2 separate regions of the Homo sapiens genome follow, and region 1 is linked to region 2. Evidence: promoter capture Hi-C in 16 types of primary human blood cells and fetal thymus (Javierre and others, 2016). All regions are on one chromosome and are shown on one strand. Each heading gives the region's core, a stretch centred on a gene start or on the middle of the fragment in contact. The rest is flanking DNA. Distances are from core to core; before and after follow the strand shown. Region 1 holds the start of KMT2A (lysine methyltransferase 2A). Region 2 overlaps SCN4B (sodium voltage-gated channel beta subunit 4).

Region 1 (3,852 bases), core at 251-2,750, 290 kb after region 2:
GCTGAGTGCAACCTGCTCACAACGACCCTCTCCCTCCTTCCCAAATTCGCCGCCCCAGGCTGTAATATTACATGCAGTGCGCTGTACCGGTGCGGGAGTCCAGGAAGGCTGCATGACCTTCCAGCGAACTCCCCCTCGGCTTGGGGGATGGAGGCTGCCCCGGGGCCTGCAGGCTGTGTATCGATCCCCCAGCCTCAGCCAACGCAAGTTCTCCCGACACAAACCCCTCCCTACCCTCTCGGCTTTCCCAGCCTTGCAGGCGTCTAACGCTATGCTCGAGGCGCCCTCCCCTCTTTCCCGCAATAAAGTAAACCCGGTGGATATTCATTCCCCTCCCTAACTCGCCTCCTTCTTTCCCCCTCCCCCCTCAGCTTACTAACCCCGCGCACAGAGCTCGCCGCCGGCGGGCCCCTTCCACCCAGTGTATCATAATGCCCAACGCTCTCCTCCTCCCCCTCTCTTAATCAGAAACGTGCTCGCGAGCCCCCCTCCCTCTGCGTGCATACATTAGGGTCTGCTTTGCATGCAGCGGCAGGCAGAGACCGGAGGAAGAAGGGGCGGGGGCGCTTTTGCCCGCCTCTTCCCTCCAGGCCCCGTTAGCCACCCAGCTTCAGCTTCGTTGTAACACCGCGTCGTTAGCGGAGCACGCCGTGGCCTCAGTGCCCGGGCTGGAGAAACACAACCCAACTCCCTGCAGAAGGGCACGAAAGCCAGACGAGTGCACAGTAGAGCGAGGAGGTGGCAGGAGACCTGCCACTCGGTGTGTGCTTTTTGGAAAGAGCTCCAGCATGAAAATGGGAGGGGCTCCTTTTTTATTTTTTAAAGTGCGTTCATTGAGGGCCTTTCTGTTTTGCATATAGTAAACTGGGCAGCGCTTCTGTTTTGCATGTAGTACAATAAGGGCTCTTTTATTCTAGAAGCGTTCAATTCGGGCTAACCCATCTTGTATCCGTGCCCTGGGGCGGAGGAGAAGGCTCACTGCTCCCCGACCCAGCCGCCGCGTTATACTGGAAGCTGCTCTCCCGGGCTGTTCGATTCCCAGCGCGTCCCGGGAACGTGTGTAATCGGCCTCTCGGCGCTCAAGGCTGCAGGCGGCCCGGCTCCCTACGCCTCCATCCTCCGCGTAGTCCTCGCCCCCTCCCCCTCTCTCCGGAACCCGCGCTCTGCTCCGGGCTCCCGGGCTTCCTTCCCCCCTCCTTTTCCCGAGCAATGCCTCTCCCGGAGGGCGGGGCATGCAGTTATCCAGGTTGCGGGGCCGGCGGGCGGGCAGGAGGCGGCGGCCCGGGCCTCGGGATGGAGTTGCAGCGCCCAGGCGTCAGAGGCGGAGGCCCGAGGCCGCTATACAGATTGCGGGGCTGGCGGGCGCGGCCCGGCGCTCTGCATAGCGGCCGGCAGGGTGCAGGCGGCCGGGCGGCGCAGAGCTGGTTAGGCAGGTTCCGGGGCCCCGTGCCCCCCCCTCCGCCTCCCCGCCCCCCTGTGTTGTCGCCTCTCCCTCTCGCTGCTTCACTTCACGGGGCGAACATGGCGCACAGCTGTCGGTGGCGCTTCCCCGCCCGACCCGGGACCACCGGGGGCGGCGGCGGCGGGGGGCGCCGGGGCCTAGGGGGCGCCCCGCGGCAACGCGTCCCGGCCCTGCTGCTTCCCCCCGGGCCCCCGGTCGGCGGTGGCGGCCCCGGGGCGCCCCCCTCCCCCCCGGCTGTGGCGGCCGCGGCGGCGGCGGCGGGAAGCAGCGGGGCTGGGGTTCCAGGGGGAGCGGCCGCCGCCTCAGCAGCCTCCTCGTCGTCCGCCTCGTCTTCGTCTTCGTCATCGTCCTCAGCCTCTTCAGGGCCGGCCCTGCTCCGGGTGGGCCCGGGCTTCGACGCGGCGCTGCAGGTCTCGGCCGCCATCGGCACCAACCTGCGCCGGTTCCGGGCCGTGTTTGGGGAGAGCGGCGGGGGAGGCGGCAGCGGAGAGGTAAGGGGGCGAGGAACCCCCAGGTCCGGGGTCTCGACCCTCTGCGGAGCCCCCTCCCCTCCCCCATCCGGGATTGAGGAGCATCCCAATTCTGGGACCATCTCGGGGTCCCTGACCCGGGGCGAATGGCTCTCCCATCTTGGGACCCCCATGCAGGGCTGCAGACCCCCAGGCGCCCCCACCCCGGGGTTTGGGCCCATCTGGCTGAGGGCGTTTGCCCCCCGCTCTCCTCCCCCTGACCCTTCCCCAAATCCCTTGGCACAGACCCCCTCGCCGGGGTTTCCCATCCCGGGACTGAACCCCTCCTCCCTTTCACAGATTACCTCATCCGAGCAAGATTCCTCCCTCCCTCCCTCCTAGAGACCTGATCCCGCCACATCCCCGCCTCCCTCTCTGGGCAGATGTGTTACTCCTAGGGCAGTTTTCCTCTCGGGCGTCTCTCGGGTGATGGCCTCATCCAGGGCCACGTTCTCCTGGCCCTTGGGGATCGTGTCCCTTCCAGCACCTTGCTTTCGAAAACCCGATGAACCCTCGCGCCATCCCCGGGCCAGGTCCCTATACTGCCAGCCACTCCCCCTTCCTTCACCTCCACCCTCTACCCCCACCCCAAGCAGACCGATCCTCCCCCATCCCGCCCTACCCCACCGGGGAAAATCTCTCCTCTGCACCTTGCCTGGTCTCACCTCCTTTCCCTCTGAAGATAACGGTGATTCCTCATACAGCAGTCTCTTCCCCCCCCCGCCCCGTCTTACAGGGCTACAGTTTCTAGCCTATTGGTAGCCGGGAATTACTCTACCTTCACTCCACCCTTTCCCTCCTTTAGAATGAAGGATTAGTGGCATCTTGGAGGGGAAAATAGTCCACTGTCCCCTAGGCTTAGAGAAGAGCAGCTTTCCACCACTCCCCTTGGAGAGGAGGCAGGCTTTCCCTCCAGCTCTGGGGAAGGGGGCCCCTGTGAGGGGAGGTGTTTGTTGGGGGACTGAGGCAGCATCCTCCCAGGGGAAGCAGCTGCTCTCCTACCCCACCCACTGCGCCTGAGAGCACGCAGTCTCCAACCCGAGCTCCCTCCCGCCCTTCTCTTCTCGTCATTTCATTATTGATCCACCTTTTCCTAGGCCAATCCTGGGGCTTGGAAGGGGTGGGGGAAGCCAGGTTGGGGTGAGGAGAGTAGATAAGGGACAGTTATACTTTAGTGTGGTGGCGGTGGTTGCTTTGGGATGGGAGAAAAAGGATTATCAAGCAAAGTTATTCCTTAGAAAGGACTTGGGGTTGTCTCTGATTCTTGTAAGGGGACCCAAGGTGGATGAAGGGTCAGAGCGTTGCCCCTTCCCCATTAGTACTGGGGCAAGAACGGAGTTGCTTCTATAAACATTATTCGGCCCCCTTCAGCAAAAAGGAAAGTTGCCCAAGGAAGGGAAGTTGAGTTCAGGTTCAGCCAGTGGCGTTGCGCATTTGTTTTCCATTGGATGCAGAAGGGGGGAGTTCGAATTGTAGAGGGGGGAGGATGGCATGGGGGATGCTAGGAGGAGGAAGAGCAGCTGCTAGGGGCTGAAGCGAAGGGGGGTAGGGGGTTGCTGCTCTGGAGTGCTCTTGATTGAAACAGAAAGGGAAAGATAACAACCAGCCGTTTCCTGCGTGCTCTGCCGTTGGTGCACACAAAATATCCTGGGCAAACCCCTTGTCCCCTATTGTGCCCCGCACCCCTTTAGATTTACGGAAAGATCCTGGGAAGAAGGGGAGGGAGGAGATCCCAAGGACCCTGGCCCCTCCTTTCAAGGAGCTGGCATTTTTTAGTTGTTAGTCTTCCTGCCTCCTTTTTTTTAATCGTTTCTAAGGCAGCCTGATCAGGAGACTGACAACAACCCGCCTTCTGACAGAGCAAGGAGGACATGATGGGGG
Region 2 (3,863 bases), core at 379-2,878:
GGAGGCTGGGCTGTACTGTTCTTCCTCCAAATACTTACAATCTTGAATGCGTCACTGCTGTTGTAGGTCCACCGGAAGTGGAGGTCCTCGAAGCCAAAGCAGCTGGAGAAGGTGCAGGGCAGCAGGATCTCCGTGCCATTGACAGCGTAGATGTCGGTGGCCTTTCCCACAGACACCTCCAGCGACAGGGTTACGGGGAGCAGGAAGAGGCCTGTGTAAGGAGCACCGCCTCCCTTAATAAAACCCCACCAGCCTGGAGCTCTGGAAGGGGATGCTTAGGCAGGGCGGAGTAGCTTGGCCAGGCAGGTAGGTCTCTATCACCCTCAGTGCCAACCTCGGGAGGATGGCTGTCTACTCCAATCAGCACCGCCTGGGCCACCCTCCATCATTCTCCATTTCTCCCCTGGAAAGGACTGAATTCTGGACCAGGGAGTAGCCCTTGTTGCGCTCTGGATGACCACCAGGGGTCACCCCAACCCAAGGAAACAAAGGCCTGGCCACTGCCGCGAACCGCGCCCCGGCTCCGCCCCTCACCTGGGGACGCAGTGCCTGGAAGCGCTCCTGCCGCACCCACTCCAGGACGCGCAGGGCGGGCTCCCTTCTGTTTGCAGGGGAATTCCCCTAGGACAGTACGCGCCTCTCGCCAGGTTTTCAGGACTGACGGGCGGGGCGGTCGAGGAGGGGGAAGAGCCGGGTCCCGTAAGGTGAAGAAGAGAAACGCGGCCGCCGCAGTCCCGGGCCGCCGTCCAGTAGCCTCTCGTTCCCCCGCCCTGGAGGCTCCTCCCTGGTCCCCAGGGGCAGAGAGGCAGAAGGACACGTTCGGGCTGGACCTCGCTGGGCCAGCCGAGTCCGACGCCCTCTGGCCGCCAAACGGGACCCTGGGAACCGCAGGAAGACGGCCTGGCAGGGGGGAACACGGCGGGGGTGGGGACCGACGCGGGGCTTGGAGCTTGGCAGCCGCGGGGGCGCGCGGGCGCAGCCAGGGTGGGAAAGTCAGTGGCAGAAGACACCCTGGGGAGGGATTCCGGGCCAGCCCGAGTGCACGCGCGCGGGGGCGGGACGGGGAGGGCGCTGGACCCGCGGTCCCCTCCTGAGCCCTGCAGCCCGGCCTTCTCGCCACACTCCGCCCCCTCGTCCCCGAGCGCCCCCAGGCTTCTTTCTCACGCTTCGAACCTCCGCCCCAGCACTCCGATGCGGCCCCCTCCGCTGGGACTAGGCCTCTCCACTCACGGCCTCCAAACTCCCGCTCCGGAGTCCTTGTAAGGGGGCCTGGTTCCCCGCCACCCCGCCCCACACACACACCCACCCCCAGTCCTGCAGATGCCCCAAGGAAACCCCACTCGCCTCAAGGTCGGTGGAGGCGGGGGCGGGGAGGGTGTCTGGAAGTGGATGCCTGCCTCACCTCCTCCCTAGAGGACACTGGCACCTTCCAACCCCACTCTCAGGAAGGCCCTCTGTTGTCTAACTTAATTCCCTGTTCTGCATCATAAACCTCTTGTTTTGCCCCCACCGGATGATAATGCGTCTGAGCAATGCTTTTCAAATGACAGAAAAGGATCTCCAAGGACAGCAGGCAGCCCTGCTTGCTCAGCTTCTTCCTGTGCCCTTAGCTTCTGATGACAAAGTGAAGTGCTTATATCCCCCAGCCCTAAAATCACACCCCGTGGTCCAGTAACCCCATCGTGATTCGGCCATTGTCGCTAACAATAGTACTAGCTGATATTAACTGAGCATCTACTATGTGCCAGGCACATTTCATCCTCACGGCCTGTCCTATGAGTCACGTACTATTATAGGTCCACATTGTAGGTGAGACAACTGAGCCTAGAGAGGTTATGTAACTTGCCTAAGAGACCCAGATCTACCCACCAGGGCTCCAATTAGTGCTGGGAAGTTATTTCAATTAGCCTTTATTTTTGGCCAGCTCCTAGGATTTGTGGCCAACCAGGATTTGTTCTAGAGCCATGGTTTTCAAACTTGAGAGCGCATCAGAATCCCCTGGAGAACAGTTACGGCTGGCTCCGCCCAGCCCCTGGAGTTCTGATTCAGGTCTGGAGTGGAGCCTGAGCTTTTACATTTCGAGAAAGTTCCCAGGGAATGCTGTGCGCAGGGACCACACTTTGAGAACCACGGTGCGAGAGGATTTGTGCATACTAACTACGACTTTTATTAGAATGCTCAAAGGCAGGTATAATGTTCCCATTTTATATATGATGAAACTGAGGCTCAGAGAGTTGACTTGCCCAGGGCCACAGAGTAAATGGTGAATTTGAGACTGAGCAGTTACTATAGGATAGGAGAGGTATTTTATATACACTGTCTCATTTAACCCTCATCATAATCCTATAAGTTACTATTTTTATTCCCAATAAACAAATGAGGAAACAGGCTTAAAAAGATTACCTTGCTCATGGCCACACACCCAGTGAGTGGAATAAGCAGCGTTCAGATATTAGCCCCTTTCCACCACTCTGTGACCAACCACACTCTCCAAGAAAAACACTGCTATCAGGGCTTAGCACTCCATAGAACTCCTGCCTTTCTGTTTACCTCTGCCCTCCTCCGCCCCATCTCCCCCAGAGGTCTAGGGACAGAAGCCAGACACAAGATCCCACTCTCCAGTCTGCAGCCAGCACTAGAACCTTTTGGTGGGAGATACCAACTCTGCTTCCCACCCTCCACAGCCCCCACAAACAGGAAGTGAATGCAGAGCAGTGGACAGGGAAGCTGTCAGACAAGGCAGCTTCCTGATAGCTAATGGCCTCCCTCAGGGCACCAAGGAGTGTGGCAGCTCCTCCTCATCAGCATACCGGTCCAGGAATCAGGGTCCTGGAGGAGATGGGGGAACTCAAATCCGTGCCCAAATCTCCCCACCTCAACCCTAGCCAGAAAGAGATATTCAAGAGCACAAAAGATGCGTGCGAAAAGGAAATCTTATTGATTGCTTTAAATAGAAGCAAAAACGAGCAAAAGATGGGTCCAGAAGAGAGGGGAACACTGTATCTTTAAGGTCTGGCTCATGACACAGTACACGTTTCTGCCTGGTTTGTGTGCACCTATGTGGATGACTTAAGTCCAATACACTCAGGACTCTGCAAGTGAAGCATTGCCATTTCCTCAGTAGCTGGGAGGGGAAAATGAAAACCGGCAGAAATGGTTTCACAGAGTCCAGAGCCCTGCCCGAGTGAAAGCATCAGAGAGGGTGGGCAAGCCTGGCTTCTTCAGTGCACAGCCCTCCCAGTCGGGAGTCATGCAGTCCTGCCAGTTATGTCTGGGAGGGTCATGCACAAGAAAGCCGAGGGGCCTGCCTCCCATTGAACTCAGTGTCTCCTATGAGGCTGCTCTGGGGGAGAGGGGGGAACCAGGGGCAGGTGTTGGTCCACAAAGGCCGCCGGAGGGCTGCTTCAGGATGACCAAGTCCAGAGAGGACTGGTGAGCATGCGCAAGGCAGGCCCCACTCTGCCAGCTGACCTTGAGAAAGTCAGAGGTGCCACATCCGGTGTGCATATCCCCAAGCCAGGGCAGGGATGCCTCTTTCCTACTTCTCAAGCTTGGTGTGAAGCCAGAACAGGAGATTATAAAACACAAGAGGGGCCGCCGTGAGTGGGCACCCTGCAGGTAGAGGAGGGTGGTATTTGAAAGGGGAGCAGGGGACAAGGGTGTCCCTCATCACAGGTAACCAGGGCACCCCTAGCTTCCCTGAATAACCAGTGTCAGCCAAGAATGTCTCCAGGCCATTCCCACATTGATCTGTATTTTCACCCTCTACCACTTCTTGGCTTATTTCCATGTGGCCATTTCCCCGGAGTAAAGAAAGCCTTGCTTTGCTGTTTTCTAAAGTTAATTCTAGAATGTTAAAGTGT

The links. The method cuts DNA at HindIII sites, captures the fragments that hold promoters and counts their contacts. A CHiCAGO score of 5 or more calls a contact.
Region 1: a contact is called between the fragment with the promoter of KMT2A here and a fragment that was not itself captured in region 2, in 1 of 17 cell types (neutrophils). The highest score is 6.5, in neutrophils.

Annotation. Positions count from the first base shown.
Region 1 is chr11:118,434,992-118,438,843 of GRCh38, forward strand. KMT2A (lysine methyltransferase 2A) reads left to right here and starts at 1,501. Exons shown (of 36, transcript NM_001197104.2): 1 at 1,501-1,953. The coding sequence starts at 1,522. RefSeq lists enhancers at 473-1,470, 670-809, 1,471-2,469, 2,470-3,467 and a silencer at 1,120-1,599. The HindIII fragment of the contact is 8,732 bases long and covers 1-3,852 here.
Region 2 is chr11:118,145,019-118,148,881 of GRCh38, forward strand. SCN4B (sodium voltage-gated channel beta subunit 4) reads right to left here. Exons shown (of 5, transcript NM_174934.4): 2 at 39-211. Among named protein-coding and RNA genes, the nearest start is that of SCN4B, 5.9 kb to the right of the region's middle. RefSeq lists an enhancer at 202-401 and a silencer at 822-891. The HindIII fragment of the contact is 3,839 bases long and covers 1-3,548 here.